Regions from separate parts of the Homo sapiens genome. Here region 1 is linked to region 2. The links are contacts of gene promoters, found by promoter capture Hi-C in blood cells and fetal thymus (Javierre and others, 2016). All regions are on one chromosome and are shown on one strand. The core of a region is centred on a gene start or on the middle of the fragment in contact, and the rest is flanking DNA. Distances in the headings are between cores, read along the strand shown.

Region 1 (4,999 bases), core at 2,142-4,641, 380 kb after region 2:
TATTTATCGTTACTTTCTTTAACATACAAAACACACATAGCAATAGCTATTATAATATTGTTGTCTGTTGATTTCTATACTTCTGATAGTTCTGGGTCTGTTTTTATTGGTTGTTTTTTTCTCTTGGTTATGGATTATATTTTCCTGTTTCTTTGCATGCCTGGTTTGTTGTTGCTTGTTTCTTTATTGATGTCATCATGAATTTTATGTCACTGGGTTCCAGCTTTTGCATCTCTTTAGGTGGTATTGGGTTTTGTTCTAACGTATAGTCTAGCTAATTGGAATCTATTTGATTATTCTGAGCTTTATCTTTTAAATGTATTTGCGCAAGTTCAGCACTTTAGTGTGGGACTAATTTATTTTGTTACTGAGGAAATACATTCCTGAGGACCCTACCTAGTACCCCATGTATTATGTCGTCTTTCCTCTGTGACTCTTTGTTCTCACATATCCACAGTACTCACTCAAAGACTCAAGAGGACCTTTCTTCAAAGCATATATGCACACAAATGCTCATGCATACTCTTGTGCACAATGTTGTTCTCTCTCTCCCCGTATCTCTTTGCTGCTCTCCCTCTTTTCAGGAACACTGCCTTGCAAATTCTAAGTATCTTTCCCCTGTCATCCACACCCCAAAACGCTTATTAGCTTTTCAACTCAGCGAAATTGTCAGGCTGTGTTACGCTTCTCTTGCCTGTAGGTGGTAAAATGGTGTATTGCAAGAGTCATCTTAGTTTTTTGTTTCCTCCCTCAGGAATTACAGCCCTGCCCTGCCTTCTTTTTGGTGTCTTGAAATTGTTGTTTTATATATTTTGTTTTGTTTTCTGTTTTTGTCCTCAGGTGGGAGAGTAAACCCAGTCCCTGTTATTCCATCTTGCATGAAAGCAAACTTTTACAGATTTGCTTTTTTAAATGTATTAGGTGATACAAGAATTTGGGGGAAACAAAAGATAAGGATCTTCTGCTTAAGAAAAAACAAGTGAGGCCTGGTGCAGTGGCTCACGCCTGTAATCCTAGCACTTTGGGAGGCCAAGGTGGGTGGATTGCTTGAGCCCAGGAGTTCAAGACCAGCATAGTGAAAATGACAAAACCCCTGTCTCTACAAAAAATTTAAAAAATTCGCCAGGCATGGTAGTGCATGCCTGTAGTCCCAGCTACTTGGGACTGATATGGGAAGATCACCTGAGCCCAGGGATGTCGAGGCTACAGTGAGCCGTGATTGCACCACTGCACTGCAGCCTGGGTGATCACAGAGTGAGATGCTGTCTCGAAGAAAAAACATAAGTGATTTTTTGGTTATGTTCAAAAGTTATTTTGTTTGGATTTTGATTAGAATTTTGTTATTAACTGTTATTTGTATAGAACCTTATACTTTGGGAAATTGACATTTTTAAATATTTAACCTTCCCATAAAAGTATAGCTATGTTACTTTAAGCTTTGTTTCTAGCCCATCAATGAAGTTGTATAATTTTCTTTATAAATGACTTATTTATTTATTAGATGTTTTTTGGTATTTTGTTTTGTTTGAATGATTAATGTTTTTTTTCCATTTGGTTATTTTGGAGTAATATTTATATGTTTTATTTACTAACTGACACTGGCACTAAATTTTCATATATGATAATACTTTTGGTTGCTTTATCATTATTTTGAGTGAGCTCTGTATATTTCATATGTAAGTCATTTGTGTCTTAGTATAGTTGACAGGGCTTTTTTTTATTCTTCATTAAAAAAAATTCAGGTTATCTTTTAAAATGGAAACCTATCTTTTTCTCTGTGGTTGCTTTCTTTTTGATATGCTGAGAAATCTTTCTGAGACCAAGAATATAAAAATACTGTCTTTTAGTACTGGTCCAGCTTTAGTTTTTTCCAAAGAGCTGTGACTCCAACACTTTCTTTTAAGAAGTCATCTTTATATCTAACTACATTTCTTTATATATAGTTGGCACTTCATATCCGTGGGTTTCACATCCATTAATTCAAGCAACTGCTGATCCTGGAAAAAAAAATGGATGGTTGCATCTCTACTAAGCATATATAGACTTGTTTTACTTGTCATTATTCCCTAAGCAATAAAGCATAACAACTATTTATGTAGCATTTCCCGTGTATTAGGTATTATTAAAAATCTCAAGTTGATTTAAAGCATATGGAAGGATGCACATAGGTTATATGCAAATGCTACATCATTTTATGTTAGGCGCTTGAGCACTGGTAGATTTTTGTATCCTTGGGGATTCTGGAACCAATCCCAGTTGGATACCAAGAGACTACTCAAGTGTGAATATTTTTTAAGTTTTTTTATTTTTAGTATCTGTTGTCTTAACACTGCTCCCAAAAGATTATAATAATTTACTTTTATTAAATTGCCTAATCAGGTTATCACTTTTATTAGATTTTTACTAAGTGTATTTTTTTCTTTGTGCAACGTATATTGACAGATGTTAGAAATTTGAGATTAGACAGTTATCTTTTATAATTAATTTTAGGGACTAGTTAAAGGCAGAAGTTTAAAAAGAATTTTCATATAGTATTGAGATCAGTTATATCTGGACAATTAAGAGAAAGGTTTTTTTTTTTCTTTCTTTTTTAGAAAATCTTAACATAAATATTGTGACAGGATCAGAATTTCTTGGATAATATCTCAGGGCTTTTTTGTTGTTTGTTTGTTTTCTTTTCCTATATTGATATATTTTATTAATAACCTTTGCTAAAGAAATTGTTTTTCTGTTTTTATAGTTTTGGTAAGCAGTTTGGAGGAAAAAGAGGATGTGATTGTCTTGTATTAGAGCCTTCAGAAATGATTGTGGTAAGAACTTTAAAGAATGCTGAATTGTTTTTGATATGCTTCAGTTTTAACTTTAAATGTAGTAGGCTTTAAACACTTAAGGAGGTTTTATTACTATGACCTTTTAGAGATTTCATCAAGTAGCATCAGAACTATCTACCAGGTTTATCTATTTCTGTCTCTTCAGACTTTTTTTGATCCTCAAGAGAGTGTGAAACATGATACACTTACATATAATTTGCAGATTTGGTATTTTTTACCCCCTTCTACCAGAAAATTAGAAGTTTTAAAAGGGGACCATGAGTTTTCAAGTGATTTTTTTTTTTTTTTTTTTTTTTGAGACAGAGTTTCATTCTTGGTGCCCAGGCTGGAGTGCAATGGTGCAGTCTTGGCTCACTGCAACCTCCGCCTCCTAGGTTTAAGCAGTTTTCCTGCCCTAGCCTCCTGAGTAGCTGGGATTACAGGCACCTGGCACCATTCCCAGCTAGTTTTTCTATTTTTTAGCAGCCATGGGGGTTTCACCATGTTGGCCAGGCTGGTCTCGAACTCCTGACCTCAGGTGATCCATCTGCCTTGGCCTCCCAAAGTGCTGAGATTACAGGCGTGGGTCACTGCGCCCAGCCTCAGGTGATTTCTTCTTTCCCATTCAATTTTACTTTTTCAATAAACTTTGAATTCTATAGTCTGTGCCCTAGACTAGAGAGAATGAAGTAGAGAAAAGTAAAAAGACATACAATTAGATCCAAGTAAGAAATGGTGTTAGTATTTTCACTTTTTAATTATTTAAGATAAGTTTTTATTTAAGAGTGTATTTAAGGAATAATTCTTTATTTTTTCTTAAAAGAGCTAAGTAGTTGATGTAACTTTAGAATTTTTTTTTTTAAGTATTAGAAGAATCAAGAACACAGCTTGCTTTTTACGTTGTTCTAAGATGACCTGACTAGAAAACAGCATATACCGAGTGGACTCATTGTCCTACTAGGATCTCATGTAGATGACCATGTCATCTGATTAGATTTGAACTGTCAAGAAGAGAAATTGAATTCTTAATGAAGCATTTTAATGTAAGGGCTCAAAACCAAACTACTTTTCCATTTCATGGTGCTATAGTCAGATTGATACCTTCAAATAGTTTGTTTTCTCTTTCTTAAACTGGATCATCTGTATAACCATGAACTCACTATCCCTAATTTTATGTGAGCAACTGGATTTTAAGCTCTTACAGGGCAAAGATTATGTCTTATTCCACTTGTGTCTCCGAGAGTATCGCAGAGTACTGCCTGCATAGTAAGTATTCAGTGAATGTTTCTTGAATTCAAGTTTTTTCAAGGATGGAGTATGTATTGTTTCAAATTTATTTTCTTTAAGCACTGAATATATGGGATTCCTATTAGAGCCTCAGAATTCTTTCTTTTTAATGTATGTATTGAGGAACATGGCAAGAAAACTGCCCAGGCAGTATTGATTTTCTGACTTTTTAGTTGTATTTTGTATTTCTCATACTATATGCAAAAGAAATACTGCTTTTACTTCAGTGTTATACATTCTGTTTTAGTGCTTGTTTTACATACTTTATGTAATATTTTCATATGAGGAGGAAGAAAAGGAGAAATCATAGGCATAGCTATAAATGACATTGTTGGTGCAATTGATGAATTCAAAATATGCACTACAGATTGGATAATATCAAATTCCCTGAGTTTGATAACCATACTGTGGTTCTGTAAGACAAAGTCCTTATTGTTAGCAGTTACATGTTGACATATTTTGGGGTCAAGAAGCATTATATCTCCAATTTATTCTTCAGTATTTCAGAAAAACAAGTATATAAAATAAAAAGTCACATCAAGTATATGTATTTATGGCTGGTAATTTTTAAATTTCAAAAATTTAAATTTATTGATGATTGGTATAATTTTAAATGCTTTATGAGTTATAGGAGAAAACAATCCAAAATAGGTGAAATTTTTCAGAATTGTTAAAAATGCCTGGTCAAATGGTTTTGTCTATTTGTACAGATTTGATTAACTCCACTGGTGATTGGAAGTGTCTGTTACTGAACACATTCTTGATCACCTGATAAGTTAGTCATCTTAATCTGACACATTGTAAAGTAATCTCCTTGTTTTAACTTTTTTTTTTCTTTTTTTTTTTTCTTTTTTTCTTAAAGAAAAGGGGCTTACCGAGAGTAGAGTGTGCGGTGGTGCGAT
Region 2 (4,523 bases), core at 353-2,852:
ACCTAGGGTATGGAGAGAAAGGGAGGTAATTCCAACATATCTCTAATTGACAGAGCAGAAGAGTTTGCTACCGAGCAGTCAATGGGCTCACTGCCTGATGAATGCAGAGGCTAATACCATGGCACTGGCTTTTGGGAAAAGAAAAGCTTTATTGCAAGTGGGCTGGCAAGGAGACAGGAGGAAATGCTCAAATCTGTCTTCCTAAGCTGGGGTTTGGTTTGGTTTTTATAAGCATAGGGTAAAGAGATGTGATCTGATTGGATCTTGTAATGAGGTGATGCTGGGAGGCATGATCTGACTGGATCCTGCTATGGGATGAAGCCAGAGCTCAACCCGGTTGGATCCTGCCATGCCATATCTACTTCTTAATTCAGTCCCTCCTCCTTGATCTGAGCACTTGGTTTCCCCTGTGGCTGCATGCTTGGTTCATCTAGGCATGCTCAGGTTACATGACCTCAGGGTTCATGGCAACTGAAAAACAACTCACAATTTTGTTACATAAAAGTTGAACCAAGGCTGGGCAAGGTGGCTCACACCTGTAGTCCCAAGAATTTAGGAGGCCAAGGCAGGAAGATCACGTGAGGCCAAGAGTTCAAGACCAGCTGGGATAACATAGCAAGACCCCGTCTCTATAAAAAAATTTACAAATCAGCTGGGCATGGTGGCATGTGCCTGTAGTCTTAGCTACTCGGGAGACAGAGGTGGGAGGATCACTTGAGCCCAGAGTTTGAGGCTGCAGTGAGCTATGATTGTACCACTCCACTCCAGCCAGGGTGACAAGCCAGACCCTGTCTTAAAAAAAAAAAAAAAAAAAAAAGAGGAGAAGGGGAAGGGGAAGGGGAAGAAAGAAGAAAGAAGAAAGGAGAAAAGAAGAAGAAGAAGAAGAAACAGATCGGTCTGGTGCAGCAACAAGTTGAGGCCCAGGGCACAAGGAGGAGAGCCCCTATGGAATCTTCTACCTTAACCACAAGGATGCCCAGATGTCTAGAGATGGCTCCTGGACACAGGCTAAGGGACTGTTTGTCGTCCAGAAGCAGCCTCCTAGAGCCCGGGATCTTCAGAGGCTTGGTTAGCCTCTTAATTACCATAGCTTCCCAGTCAGTTGCAGGCCCAGGGGACTGAAGTTGATTCCTCAGGGAGAAGCTCCTTGTCACTTTAAGGTGCATTCAGTCCTCTTTGTGACCTTCCTGCACTGAGGCCAACCCCTCACAAGACTGCCTGTGCTGGTGGCCTAAAACTCCATTACTAAGGCCTTATGCAGTGCTGATAGGGAGAGCTTGCTCAGAGGAAGTGTTGGGCCCACCCAAAGGAGGGAACGCCTTTACTCCTGCATGCCCAGTTGAATTAAGCATGCAGCCACAGGCGAAACCTAAGTGCTCAGACGGAGGAGGAGGGGCTGAATTAAACCTTTTTCTGGACGAGGAAAAAGTTTTTTCCAAAAAACTCTCGTTTCGCTGGAGTTGAAGGAACCTGCGCCAGAAGGCCAGAAACCACTGGGCCCCTATAGGAAGGCTGGGCGGCTGCCGCGCTCCTCCGTTTTCCCAGAAGCCTCTGCGCGGCCTCACAGAGATAAAAGCGCGGGAGCGAGGCCCGGCGGCTCCAGTTCTGGGGCTTTTGCTTTCGCTCGATTAGTTGCTGTGAGGCTGCTCCGCGGGCCTCGCCTGGACGCTGACTCCCTGTGACTTAGCCCTGATCCTCAGGAAGGCAGGCCATCGAGAGTCCAGAGGCACCCGTGGCCTGGGGGTAGGGTGGGATAGCAATGTGGCCGCTACGGGTCTATACCCGCAAAAAGCGGGAGGGTCAGAGGCTCAATCTCACCCCGACGCCAGACCTAGGCTCTCCAGCGAAGGCCGAGGCCCCGCCAGGTACAGGCTCAAGGCTCGCCCACCGTAAGCTCAGCCGAGCTGCCTCCGGGACGGGACCGAGGGCGGGCGGGGGTGCTAGGCCTCGGGCCCAGGACCCCCCCGAAGCCGGTGGGTAGGTTTCTTGCCCTGAAACGTGCCGCCCTCTCTCAGGTTCGAAGAGAAAAGGCAAAGTGCACGGCTTGTCGAAGATTGCAGAGAAAGCAGAGCGGAGCAGGCAGGGAGGTAGCGGCTCTGGGCCGTTCAGGTATGTAGCCTCCAGTAACAGCCCGATCCTAGCTTGCCACCTCAGAAAACTTCAAGCCGAATTTTCTGCTAGTAGCCTTTTATTCTAACAGTCAAGGAGCAAAACAAATACAGTACTCTGATTTTGCTCTTCTCAGAACATGGACCCCAAAATTTGACTTCAGGAAGATTTATTTTTAAAAAGGGGAAGGCTTGCCAATTTACGTAAAAGGAAGTGAGATAAATTGGTCGGTGAGCTATACGATTGTGTCACTGCATTTGGGTTTTGGTGCAAGTCACCACTCTGGTCCTTACTTCTTCCTAAAGATGTCCCTAAAGAGCCTTTCAGATTCTAAAGAGTCTGAACAGAGACGTGGAGAGCCAAATCCAGATGGTGCAAACTAATTGCGTTGTCTCTTTGTTAGCCCTCGCTTAGGAGTTACAGGAGAGAAAAGCCTGCAAGAAAATAGGTCTAGTGAAGACACCCAGGATGAGAAGATTGCATCGTTGCGTGTATGTATGCTTCTCTTTTAGTCCTTGGACACACTTAGTGTAGAGACTATCAGTACCTGATGTACCTCCGGATGAAAGAATAAAATGGGCTTTGTTCTGTAGATGTTACATAGCTCACCAGTATTTTTATAAACACTTACGTGTCTTTAGACAGGGCCTTGAATTTCTGACTTGGGTAGATTCATAGTCATGCATTTTTGTTTTTCTCTTTCTCTTGACACGTTTTTGGAGAAACGTCCATAATTGGTGAATTTTCTGTATGACAAATACAAAATGTTACTTAATAACTCCTTTTTTCATGTTTTCCATTTGATTTTCCATTAACAACTGGAAACATTCATTACTAAGGGTTTAATATGTTACAGAGCATTCTAATGTTTATTCATTAGAATATTTTATAACTTCTTGATGTGCTGTATTTAATATGAATTCTGTACTATATTTTAAAGTTGTACAGCACTAATTTAGGGAAGCTCAGATTTTAAAAATTGCTTGTGACTCATCTGACATTAACATTAAACTTCATAGTCAAGTTCCTTTTTTTTTTTTTTTTGGAGACAGAGTCTTGCTCTGTCACCCAGGCTGGAGTGCAGTGGCACAGTCCTGGCTCACTGACTGCAGCTTCTGCCTCTCGGGTTCAAGCGATTCTCCTGCCCCAACCTCCTGAGTAGATGTGATTACAGGTGTATACCACCACCCAGCTAATTTTTGTATAGAGGGGGTTTCTCCAGGTTGGCCAGGCTGGTCTCGAACTCCTGACCTCAAGTGATCTGCTCGCCACGGCCTCCCATAGTGCTGAGATTACAGGCTTGAGCCATCACACCTGGCCAAGTTCTATTTTTTTTTAACTTAATATTCCTTTATAACATGTTTTTGGGGGAAGGCAGTTTCAACACAAGACATTTTTTTAAAAGGCTTTTATCCATAGTTTAACAGTGTAAAGTAGTCCTTGTAGAGTATTTATACTATGAAAAAATAGTGTTTTGAAAGTTTCTTAAAATTTTTATATATTTCTGTTCCTTTTCTCCTGTGCTTTAAAAAAAATGACCAGTTGTCTTATTGTATATTCCCATACATTAAATAGTCTTCAAAAATATGACTTTCAGTGTCTTCATAGTGCTTTGTCTTGTAGATAGATACACTGTAATTTGTATTACTATTTCCCTGTGGTTGGGAAATTGAGATTGTTTCCAAGGTTTTGCTGTTATTGATATCCATAGACATTCTGTTACAGAAGGTTTTTGTGTACCTCACATTGTTACCCTAAGATAAATACTTTGCAGTGGATCACAGGTTGGATCATGTTTCAAGTTTTTTTATTCATGTTGATAAATCAGCACCATCTTACCTGAAACTTTTATATATATGTGTGTGTATATATATGAAATAGATAGATAGATAGATGAAAAGTAGCATGTTTTTTACTTTTCATTTCTTTGAATGCTGGGGAAGTCGATATTTTTTTTCTCAAATTATTGGCCATTTGTACTGTTTTGTGAAATGTCTATTAAATATTAAAGATAGCTATACTTTTGTACATACATATATAACCAATATTTCCATATTTGTTTACTTGCCTTTAATTTTATTTCTAGTATTTTAGACTTACTAGTCTTTTCTTTTGATTTATATATTTGCCTCTATAGATGGAAAAAAAGCCCCTCCCCACTAGGGAACCAGAAAAATATTCACCTCTATCTTCTATTTGCTGTCATCCCACAGTAGTTACTTGACTAGCATATTGTTGATTACAAGATATGTTCATAGTATTATATTTTAATATTTATTTTTAGGTTTAATATTAAATATCAGATTACATCTGAACAATAAACTGAATGAATGTATTATATATATGAAACATATAAAAAGTTGATGTTTTCATTTTTCTAAAATAAATCTGTACAAGATTATAATATAGAAATG

The links. The method cuts DNA at HindIII sites, captures the fragments that hold promoters and counts their contacts. A CHiCAGO score of 5 or more calls a contact.
Region 1: a fragment that was not itself captured here is called in contact with the fragment with the promoter of MEIKIN in region 2 in 1 of 17 cell types (neutrophils); the score reaches 6.0 in neutrophils.

The regions. Positions count from the first base shown.
Region 1 is chr5:131,559,789-131,564,787 of GRCh38, reverse strand. It overlaps RAPGEF6 (Rap guanine nucleotide exchange factor 6), which reads left to right. Exons shown (of 28, transcript NM_016340.6): 5 at 2,741-2,810. Among named protein-coding and RNA genes, the nearest start is that of RAPGEF6, 73 kb to the left of the region's middle. The HindIII fragment of the contact is 3,906 bases long and covers 1,439-4,999 here.
Region 2 is chr5:131,942,742-131,947,264 of GRCh38, reverse strand. It overlaps MEIKIN (meiotic kinetochore factor), which reads left to right and starts at 1,602. Exons shown (of 13, transcript NM_001303622.2): 1 at 1,602-1,865; 2 at 2,016-2,109; 3 at 2,513-2,600. The coding sequence starts at 1,760. The HindIII fragment of the contact is 14,593 bases long and covers 149-4,523 here.